Regions from separate parts of the Homo sapiens genome. Here regions 2 and 3 are each linked to region 1. Evidence: promoter capture Hi-C in 16 types of primary human blood cells and fetal thymus (Javierre and others, 2016). All regions are on one chromosome and are shown on one strand. Each heading gives the region's core, a stretch centred on a gene start or on the middle of the fragment in contact. The rest is flanking DNA. Distances are from core to core; before and after follow the strand shown.

Region 1 (3,704 bases), core at 1-2,500:
TTTTGAAACGAACCCAGCTTTTGACTCCCCTTGCCTCCTAAGCCCCAGTTTCCTCATCAACAGTAGTGGTTCAGAGAGTGTTAGCAACAACACATTTCATCAATTCCTGCAGCAAATTCACTGAGTGCCCACTCTGTGCAGACCCCTGCAGCCCTACCCAGACGCTGCCCTCCTGGCGCTCCCAGGCAAGTGGCGGAGGTTAAATAAATAACTCCTCCACGCTGGCGAGCACCCCAACACAGTAGGGGTGCAATCATTGGGAGCAATATCCTAATGAGGACAGGGAGGCCTGAGAGATGGGCTGGGATTCGTCCAAGGCCCCAAAGCAGGGTGGGGACAGAGCAGGTCCTGGAAGCCTGGAACCCCGGCCTGAGCCAGGCATCCCCTCGGGGCCGGCTTCCACCTGCCAGGGCTGAGCCCTATGCCCTGACGTTTGGGCAGCGGGGAACGGGGGCACAGGGAGGGTGACGGGGTGAAGGAAACAGGCCTGCTGGTGGCTCCGAAGGAAGGTTTGGGCCAGGCCTAGCTGGAATCCCAAAACTCACCTGCCAGCAACCGCGAGCGGGAAGCCCTGCCAGGCTCGCCTGCCCCTGCCAGCGGCCCAGCCACGCTGGGTCCCCCTCTCCATCCCGCACTTTGCTCTTTGCCCGCGACAGGGGTCCCCTGCTCAAATGCCCAGCCTAGCCTCGGTCCAACCTGTCTGGCTGTCCTTCCCTGACACCTCGTTTGTCTACCCTTCTCTGCACGTGTCAGTGGCTCCCCGCTCGCGTCCGTGTGTCATTCCCTACACACGCCTGTGTGTCCTCTTCACACGTCTGACTGGAGCGTCGGCCTCCCGCATTTCCCGGCCTCCTCGCCGCCCTGCCCCGCCTGCTGCTGTGTGGGTGTCGGGCTGGCTGTGCGCAAAGGGGCGCGGCTCGGCCCTCCCCCGCACCCGCGCCCCCCGCCCCGCATCTCGGAGTGACCCGGGCCGCGGCGCCGCGGTGCTGAGGCCCGGGAGCCGCGCCGCCGCCGAGGGGGGCCGGGGCCGGTGACGGTGGCGTGGGCGGCGGCGCGGGGACGACGGGCGGCCGGGCGGGGCTGCGGCAGGGCAGGGCCAGGGCCAGGGCCGGGGCCTGGGAAGCCGCCGCCGCCGCTGCCTCGGCCCGGGATCGCGGGCGGCTGGTCGGCCCGGCTCGCCTGGCCCCGCCTGGCCCGCCCCGCCCCGCCCCTGCGCGCCCAGCAGGCCGAAGCGTAGCGGCGCGCCCCCCGCGACGCCCGAGCCCGAGCGCAGTGGCCTCCGAGCGGGAACCGGACTGGGAGCCGGAGCCGGGGCGGGAACCGGAGCTGGAGCCGAAGCTGGAGCCGGCACTGCGGCGCACGGAGCGGAGCGCTGCAGCCAAGCCGAGTAAGGGGCGTGGGGCTGGGCGGCGCGGGGGAGGGGCGGGCGGGGGGTCCCGGCCCCATTCCCCCGCGCTCTGCGGTGGTACCGGCGAACGACACACCCGGGGGCGCGCCGCGCGGAGCCTCGGTGCGCGGGGCGGGCGGATGCGCGGTCCGGAACGGAACCGCAGCGCGCTCGGAACGGAGCGGGATCCCGGGTCTCCCGCGGACCCTCGACCCCGGGCTGGCCACTGGGATCTGCGCGAGCCGAGGCTGACCCTGATCGCGCCCTCGGGCCTCGGGGAAGGGGAGGTATCCAGGTTTTCTGCCTGACTCGAGTCCCCGACGAGCATCAACCGCATTTGGGGAACCCAAGACAGCCTCCCCAGCAGCTTGCCCTCGGTTTCGGGGACCCCTGAACAACCCAACCAAGAAGGGAAAACTAGGGCGCACTCTCGGTCGGGGTGGGAGAGGAAAGGGGCTGGGGCTTCACGGAGTTTGGAGTTTGAACCCACCCGCACCCCTTTGAGCTAGGAAGTTTGACCCTTCGACGAGCAGGTCGCCTGGGGTATGCCCCTGTCTCCGTGCCTCTGTCTCAGCACCGAGCGTCGGAGAGAGAGCGCGCCCTCCGCACCTTCTCCCACTTTGGGACAGACTTTCCCTTGCGCTGTCAGAGGGACCCGAGGCTGAGTACGAGGCGAGGCGGCAGGCAGCTCAGGCTGGCTGCGCAGCGCTGAGTGGCACCGCCGCCGCTCCCCAGGGGCAGGGCCCACCCCACACCCGGCTGACTCTCGCTGCCCTTCCTCCTTCCCTATCGGGCTCTGCGGTCTGGAGGCTGGAGAGCGGTGAGGACCAGGGACTGCCCTGTCCATCTCGGGCGGGTGCCGGCGTGGGTGGCGGGGCGCAGGCTGGGAAAGGGAGGGCGCAAGTAACTGGTGTGAGAGGCAGGGGTTCAGGGATCCTTGCTCTTGAGCCACGATTTCCGATGAGCCCCTGCCGAGAGCATGCCGCTCTGGACTCACTCCTCAAACATAACTGCTCTGCTGGAACGAGAGACTTCACCACCCTGTGCCTCAGTTTCCTCATCTGAAAGTAAGCAGGAGTCTGTTGTGAGCGGGATGTTTAAGGGATTTGGAACCAGAAGGTGGGCTTGGCTGACTTCCTGGCTGTACAACCTTAAGCAAGACACAAACCTCTCTGAGCCTTAGTTTCCCCATCTGGAACATGGGGAAGGTGAGTTGGGAGGATTAAATGAGATGATGCTGGTGAGGGTATGTAGCCTGGTGCCTGGCACGCAGCCAGTGGCCAATTGTGGTGGGCTACAGGTGTCCTGAGGTGTCCAGCACCAGTAGATGCTGAGATTCAGTGCCTCTGAATCTGAAGTGGTGCTCCCAGCCCCCTCCAAGGAGGCCTTTGAATTCCCCAAGCTGTTGACATTTAATTGCAAAGCAAAACTTTCTCCTTAGGGCCCACCCTTTCTCAGACGCTCCCTCCTCCAAGGCTCTCTACCGCCCAGCCCAGTTCTCCCCTGCTACCTCCCATCTCTCTCCAGGGTGAAAAGGCTGCATCTGACTGTAAGGTGCACCCTTTTCCTCCTTGCCCTTAGCTGATGTCCGCTGCCCCAGAGAGGGGCACCCACCCATTGCTCGAGCTCCGTACAAGGGAATTTAACACCTCCCTCCACTCCCGGGTGGAGGATTGCTTTCCCTGAGGAGCCATCAGGCTGTCAGGTGGCTTGGACACACCGATGGTGACGGTTCAGACAGGCAGCAAGAAGCACCAGGGAGACAGCCTAGAGGTCTGAGGGGTCCCAGCCTTGATTCTTCGCAGACTATGATGTATTCGTCCAGGCAACTGGGCCATGAGGCACCAGAAATGAAGGATGTCGGGGAGGAAATGGAGCCAGTGATTGAGAGGTTCAAACTTCAGAGCAGGGTGTCCCCAGGAAGGGATTTGCTCCAGTCTGTGTGGCTGGGACCTTAGACCCAGAGCAGAGCAGGGCATAGGCCCAGGGGATAGGGGAGGATGCTGGGATCCTGGAGGTGGCAAGGAGCGGGTGGGCGGGCAGGAGTGATGGGAAGAAAGCAGTGGTCCAGTTCACACCCATGTTGGTCCCTGGCCACCTGTGCTGTGTGGGTGTTCTGGCCCAGCTGCCCAGAACAGGGATGGGGGAGGAATCTCAGATGAGGAAACATGTCCACATGGTGCCAGGGTACACCTGGTAAGACAGGCAAGATGAGCTGCCACCTGGGGCCTCCTACACGGAATCTCCCTCTCTCCTCTTCTTCCTCTGTAGCTTCCCCCTCCCCTTCCCCATTCACCCACTAGGGGTCACGTCGCTG
Region 2 (3,704 bases), core at 613-3,112, 320 kb after region 1:
AAAAAGGGTGAGAGTCTCTTAGCTTTCAATAAAAACCAAAAGATACTAATGTTCACTGGTCAACTGTGCCACAACCTAAATAATCCATCATCCTAAGGTAACAGCAATCAGTGAAGCAGTGAGCTGTGCTGAAGAGCCTATGTTTAAACAAGCCCTTCTTGTGTTGGTCACACTAAACAATGCATTCACATACTATAAAGGATGCCAAAGAGACAGAACCTTTGTATTTAAATGTGAAGATAAAATCATCACTTACATAAACTGAGATATGAATTACCAGACGCCTAATTATATTGGGGAATTAGTAATTTTTTGTTATGATAATAATATGGTTATGTTTTTAAAAAATTCTTATCTTAGATGTCCTTATGGCAGTATACATAGATAAAATTTAATGTCTGAAATCTGCTTCAAAATCATCTAGTGGGGAGTAAACAGAGCAAAGAGTAAAAGTACAGTTGAAATAAAATTGATCAAGAACTGGTTATGTATGTTTGTATATTTATTTTTGAGACAGCGTCTGAGACACCCAGGCTGGAGTGCAGTGGCAACTGCAGTCTCGATTTCCTGGGATAGTGATCCACCCACTTCAGCCTTCCAAGTAGCTGGGACTACAGGCACAAGCCACCATGCCCAGCTAATTTTTTAGTTTTTTGTAGAGATAGGGTCTCCTGATATTGCCCAAGCTGGTCTCAAACTCCTAGGCTCAAGCAATGCTCCTGCCTCGGCCTTCTAAAGTGCTGGGATTACAGGCCTGAGCCAGTGCGCCCAGCCAGAACTGGTAATTGTTGAAGCAAGGTGACAAGTACACTGTGGTTCATGATACCACTCTCTACTTTGTATATATTTTTTGTTTTCTACTAAAATAGATTCACACAAATGTGCAAGTGCTAAGATGTAATGAAACGTGGTTCCAAATGAATACCAGGATGATCTAACTGCCGAAGACAATTCTCCAAATTTATTCATTTATTTGAGATGGAGTCTCACTCTATCACCCAGGCTGGAGTGTAGTGGCACGATATTGGCTCACTGCAACTGCCGCCGCAACCGCCGCCACCCCTCCCTGCTGCCCAGGTTCAAGCGATTTTCCTGCCTCAGCCTCCCAAGTAGCTGGGACTACAGGCACGTGCCACTACGCCTGGCTAATTTTTGTATTTTTAGTACAGATGGGGTTTCACCACGTTGGCCAGGCTGGTCTCGAACTCCTGACCTCAAGTGATCTGCCCGCCTCAGCCTCCCAAAGTGCTGGGATTATAGGCATGAATCACCATGCCCGGCCAAATTTATAATGTATTTTTAGAAATTTTCAGTTATCTTTTGAGAACTATTTTTTATTTATTTTTATTTTTTGAGATGGAGTCTCCCTCTGTCACCCAGGTTGGAATGCAGTGGTGCAAGCTCAACTCATTGCAATCTCCTACTCTAAGGCTTCGATTCTCCTGCCTCAGCTTCTGAGTAGCTGGGATTACAGGAGTGCACCACTACGCCCAGCTAATTTTTGCATTTTTAGTAGAGACCGGGTTTCACCATGTTGGCTGGGCTAGTCTCGAACTCCTGACCTGTGGTGATCTGCCCGCCTCAGCCTTGTTGGGATTACAGGCATGAGCCACCGTGCCCGGCAGAACTATGTTTTATAAAAGTACCTTGAGAACTATCATCAAAAATATTTTATTAACTATTAATACTTTTTCTTTTTGTGATGAGTTTTACTTTGTTGCCTAGACTGGAGTGTAGTGGTGTGGTGTAGGGGTGTGCCTAGACTGGCGTAGCTCACTGCAGCCCACGCCTCCCAGGTTCAGGCGATCCTCATGCCTCAGGCTCTTGAGTGGCTGGGATTACAGTTGTGTGCCACCATACTGGCTGATTTTTGTATTTTTAGTAGAAATGGGGTTTCACCACGTTGTCCAGGCTGGTCCCGAACTCCTGGGCTCAAGGGGTCCGCCCACCTCAGCCTCACAAAGTGCTGGGATTACAGGCGTGAGCCACCGCGCCCGGCCTATTAGCTTCTTTTTCAATAAATTCCAACATATACTTTAAAACCAGCAGGGCCTGGTGGCTCACGCCTGTAATCCCAGCACTTTGGGAGTCTGAGGCGGGTGGATCACTTGAGCTCAAGAGTTCAGGACCAGCCTGGACAACATGGCAAAACCCCATCTCTACAAAAGATACAAAAATTAGCCAGGCTTGGTGGCATGTACCTGTAGTCCCAGCTACTCGGGAGACTGAGGAGGGAGGACTGCTCGAGCTCGGGAGGTGGAGGTTGCAGGGAGCTGAGATAATGCCACTGCACTCCAGCCTGGATGACAGAGCCAGACCCTGTCTCAAAAAAAGAAAAAAAATAAAACAAAACAAACAAAAAAACCCAATCTTCCTCTTTTAGAAAAATATACTTAAAAAAAAACCTATCTTTTATTAACTTTTTTGTATAAGCAATTAACATGCTATAAAAAAATTTATATTCATGGCTTTGTGTCAACAGTATAAAGTATCTAAATCTAGCAATACTTTCAAATTCTATTTTAGCGGCTTTAGTTTGGGTTCTGTGAATGTCCTCAAAAATACTACTCTGTACCCAAAGTCTGTGGGTTTTAATGCCTACCCATCCACAGGCATGGTTCCTTTTTTCAGCCTCTCTCCCCACTGCCCACTACACGTAACTCACCCATGTGCTTGGAGATCACACCACGTGTAGCATTAAACAGATGCCCCCAAACCTGGAGGCAGAGGTCCTTTGACATGTCACATCCTACCACAAACTAGGTACAAGCCAGAGACTGTTTTCTCTACCTGGGTAACTGCTTGCAAAGTGTATATTTATAACTCAATCACATCACACAGTAAGAAAGACTAGGGCTGGAAAATGTACCATTAACAACAGATAAGGGCAATTCTTCCATCAAACAGGAACTTGCAAGCGGGTGGCCTAAAAAAATCCAATAAATGCAGAGACCAAGAAGTTTTTAAGGTAACTTTAAAAAAATCTGTATATAAGTTAAAATATACTTAAAGGCAAATAAATGTGGTCAACACGATGCTCTGGCATGAAATATGCTTATGGTATCTTGAAACAGAAGAGGCTATAGAGATTCACAGATTACCTACATCATGTTTTACACTTTCAAAAGAAACAAAAGGGTACTAGAGCTATCACCATGTCTCAAGCACTGTTACACCTGATACACCCTGTATCATTTTGTATAGGCACCATTACCCCATTCTACAAATGAGGAAACTCAAGTACAGAGTGGTTAAGTCAGTTACCCAAAGCCACACAACTACTGACTACAGGCATGGCATTCTGAACGAGTTCTGCCTGGCTCCAAAGCCACAGCTCTTTCCACAGTAACCACACTGTCCAAAAAAGGAAGCAAAAGACTCAATACATGTGAGATCCTCTGGCCAGGCTCAGCAGCCCTGTATGTACAGACTCCAGTGGGCCTAGATGAGTACCCAAATGCCTCTGTCCTTCTTACACAAGAGACTCTTACCCATGCCCTCAACATTTTTTTTTTTTTTTGAGACAGAGTCTCACTCTGTTGCCCAGGCTGGAGTGCAGTGGCACAATCTCGGTCACCGCAACCTCTGCCTCCCAGGTTGAAGCGATTCTCCTGCCTCAGCCTCCTGGGTAGCTGGGATTACAGGCGTGCGCCACCATGCCTGGCTAATTTTTGTATTTTTACTAGAGACAGAGTTTCACCATG
Region 3 (3,704 bases), core at 407-2,906, 290 kb after region 1:
TCAGTGTTACTCAGAGATGACGTCCTAGAGATGTTTTCAAGGTCATTAATCACACTGAAGACCTACCATATGCCAGGCACATGTGTACCTCCTCTAATGTCCACAATGACTAGAAAGAAATTTTATCCCTACTTTACAAAGATGGGAAAAGGAGGCCTGAGAGGGGTGAAGTTCCCCAATTTTGGTTGTTTTCTTGTTTTGCTTCTTGATCAATTTCTCATCCATCTGAACTGCACTTGCTTGATTCAAATGTCACCAGAGAATGAACTAGGACTGGAACCCATTAGTGCCCATGCCCTCCCCAACATTCCAACTGCCTCCCTCCACGGGTTGCTCCCAATCCAGAGGTGGCAGAAGAGGAATTCCAGAGAGGTTAGTGGTGTGTGTAAGGGCCCCTAAGGCAGGTCTAGAGGCAGGCCAGCCTGCTAGCCTCACAGGCACACCTAGGAACATTTGCACTGGTGAAAGTCTGTCTCAGAGCCTGCCAAGGGCTCCTGCCGCAGGCAACACCTAAAGCTCTTCATACCTTAAGAGAAAGGAAATTCCAAGATTAGGAGTGGCAGACACCTCAATTTGCGTTTCCCAGAAAGATACCTGCGACTGCAGCCCCTTCTCCCTTTGTAGAGGATATTGGGTACTTTATCTGCCATTTCTCTCCACCTAGCAAGAGTGACTCTTCCATCCATCATGGCAAGGGGAAAAGGTTGAACAGCAGCACACAGCTGCTTACGACCACAGATGAAAACACTCTCGATTGATACATTTTCCCCATCTGCTTTATTATTTATTTTTTTGAGACGCAGTCTCACTCTGTCGCCCAGGCTGGAGTGCAGTGATGCGATCTCGGCTCACTGAAACCTCCGCCTCCCAGGTTCAAGTGATTCTCCTGTCTCAGCCTCCTGAGTAACTGGGACTACGGGCTTGTGCCACCATGCCTGGCTAATTTTTGTATTTTTAGTAGAGATGGGGTTTTACCATGTTGGCCAGGCTGGTCTCGAACTCCTGACCTCGTGATCTGCCCACTTCAGCTTCCCAAAGTGCTGGGATTACAGATGTAAGCCACCGTGTGCAGGCCCCCAACTGCTTTAAATGAGCACAGAGTATCAGCATACCACCATGATTAGCTGAAACTCAAGCTAGACTGCCTGGGTTCAAATTCTGGGACCTTAGTAGCTACTTACCTTATCCATGTCTTAATTTCCTCAATCTGGAAACTAAGATGGACATCAGCAGAGTTGTTGTGAAGTTTAAATCAGTTTGTATAAACCACCTAGAAGAGTGACTGGTGGCTGGGCGCCATGGTTCACACCTGTAATCCTAGCACTCTGGGAGGCGGAGGCGGGCGGATCACCTGAGGTCAGGAGTTCCAGACCAGTCTGGCCAATATAGTGAAACCTCGTCTCTACTAAAAATACAAAAATTAGCCAGGCGTAGTGGCGTGCATCTTTAGTCCCAGCTACTCGGGAGGCTGAGGCAGGGAGAATCGCTTGAACCCAGGAGGCAGAGGTTGCAGCGAGCCGAGATTGTGCCACTGCACTCCAGCCTGGGCGACAGAGCGAGACTGCATCTCAAAAATAAAATAAAATAAAATAAAAATAAAATAAATAAAAATAGAAGTGACTGGTATACAGCAATCTCTAATGTAAGCGTTTACTATTACAATGTTAATGCCCGTATTATCAAATAAAATAATCCTCAACACATTTATTCACCAAACTTCCTAACTTAATTTTAAGACAAAATGTAACAATGAATTAATAATCTGTACAAGTGCTGACAGGCACGCAGACTGGTGTGACCTCTATGGAAGGGATTTTGATAATATCTAACAACCACAGACGCGCATTTACCTTTTGAGTAGGTAGGCCCACTGCTAAGAATTTACCCTGAAGACACATCTCCAAAATAAAACACAAGATATGCAGAAGGTTACTCACTGCAGCATTAGATGTAATAATACAAGACTGCAAACATCCTAAATGCCCATCTGCAGGAGACTGGATGAATAAACAAGGTACATTATACAATTGAATAGGATGTAGCCATAAACAAGAATAAACATCTCCATGAACTAATATAAACCAACTTACAGGGAATGCTAAGTGAAAAAGTAGACATGGTGCGTCCACTCAAAAGGCCTACAAGTAATAGCACTCAGTAAAATTAAGTATGCCTATCGTCCAGATCTTGGTTTCCAAAAACCAATCTCCCACTAAAAGAAACCAGGGCTCTAGCCGGGCACGATGGCTCACACCTGTAATCCCAGCACTTTGGGAGGCAGAGGAGGGTGGATCACCTGAGGTCGGGAGTTCGAGACCAGCCTGGCCAACATGGCGAAACCCGTCTCTACTAAAAATATAAAACTTAGCCAGGCGTGGTGGCACATGCCTGTAATCCCAGCTACTCAGGAGGCTGAGGCAGGAGAATCACTTGAATTCGGGAGGTGGAGGTTACAGTGAGCTGAGATTGCACCATTGCACTCCAGCCTGGGCAACAGAGCAAGACTGTCTCAAAAAAAAAAAAAAAAAGAAAAGAAAAGAAAAAGAAAAAAAGAAACCAGGAACCAGGACTCCTTGGAAAAACGGCTGATTCCAGGTCAAAGTCAGGGAAAATGCAAGGTGAGCCTGGAACACCTTTTTGTGCCAGAAAGTAAGAAAATGCTCAGAGATTAAGGGGAGCATATCAAAAGGAAAGAGTTATATCTGTTAAGAGTATAGTATCCAGAATACATAAATAACTCTTACAACCCAATGATAAAAAGTCAAATAGGCTGGGTGCAGTGACTCATGTCTATAATCCCAGCACTTTGGGAGGCTGAGACACAAGCAAGACCCTCAAAACAAACACAAAAAACACAAAAGGCAAATAACCTAATTTTAAAATGAGCAAAGAATCTGAATAGACATTTCTCCAAAGATATATAAATGGCCAATACACACATCAAAAGATGCTCCTTAACATCGTTAGTCACTGAGATACCCACCACCTTCATACTCATGAGGATGGTTGTAATTTTTAAAAACCAAAAAAACCAGGCTGGGTGTGGTGGCTCACACCTATAACTCCAGCACTTTGGGAGGCCAAGGCGGGAGAACCACTGGAGGCCAGGAGTTCAAGACCAGACTTGACAACCCCCAGCTCTAAAAAATAAGATAAAATAAATATGGCTTTACAATGTTATTCTTTCCAGAATTTCTGACAATTTCAAGTGAGACAGGTAAACATTTTTAGTTATGTGATCAGATACCCCATATGATTAGCAGAAAATTCAATGTATCTCCAGTGGGATGATTCACCATAAAGAAAGCCACCAAAACTTGTAAGCAGTCTGGATTCGTGTTTATTGAAGCCAGTAATTAGAGACATCTTTTTTTCCCAGGACTAGAAAGCAAGGTTCCACATGACTGCATACTGCACCCGGACAGAGCCACACCCCTGGACTAAGGCTGGTGGGGGATAATCTGCAGTCTTACTTTTAAGTTAGAAACACCAATAAATTTAGTATACAGACGACAGTGAACTTTCACTTACAGCATTAACATTGTTAAGGTCATGATGTACAGAGCAGTCACTTTCAACTTTGTTAAATTAATAAAACATGACAATGTCTTCAGTTTAAATACCGATTTTAAAATGCCAATCAAAAAAAAGTGCAAACAAAATAACAATCTAGCAGCATTATCTGTTGCATTTTTAGGAAAGAC

The links. Contacts are between HindIII fragments. The CHiCAGO score rates a contact against its expected background, and 5 or more counts as called.
Region 2: a contact is called between a fragment that was not itself captured here and the fragment with the promoter of BEAN1 in region 1, in 9 of 17 cell types (activated CD4 T cells, naive B cells, total CD8 T cells and 6 more). The highest score is 10.0, in activated CD4 T cells.
Region 3: a contact is called between a fragment that was not itself captured here and the fragment with the promoter of BEAN1 in region 1, in 13 of 17 cell types (naive B cells, activated CD4 T cells, total B cells and 10 more). The highest score is 15.6, in naive B cells.

Annotation. Positions count from the first base shown.
Region 1 is chr16:66,426,045-66,429,748 of GRCh38, forward strand. BEAN1 (brain expressed associated with NEDD4 1) reads left to right here and starts at 1,251. Exons shown (of 5, transcript NM_001178020.3): 1 at 1,251-1,387. RefSeq lists an enhancer at 2,079-2,679. The HindIII fragment of the contact is 13,321 bases long and covers 1-3,704 here.
Region 2 is chr16:66,743,578-66,747,281 of GRCh38, forward strand. All of the region lies in intron 3 of DYNC1LI2 (dynein cytoplasmic 1 light intermediate chain 2), which reads right to left. Among named protein-coding and RNA genes, the nearest start is that of DYNC1LI2, 6.2 kb to the right of the region's middle. RefSeq lists a silencer at 3,035-3,235. The HindIII fragment of the contact is 6,912 bases long and covers 1-3,704 here.
Region 3 is chr16:66,717,576-66,721,279 of GRCh38, forward strand. It overlaps DYNC1LI2 (dynein cytoplasmic 1 light intermediate chain 2), which reads right to left. Exons shown (of 13, transcript NM_006141.3): 13 at 3,318-3,704. Among named protein-coding and RNA genes, the nearest start is that of CMTM4, 23 kb to the left of the region's middle. The HindIII fragment of the contact is 6,892 bases long and covers 1-3,704 here.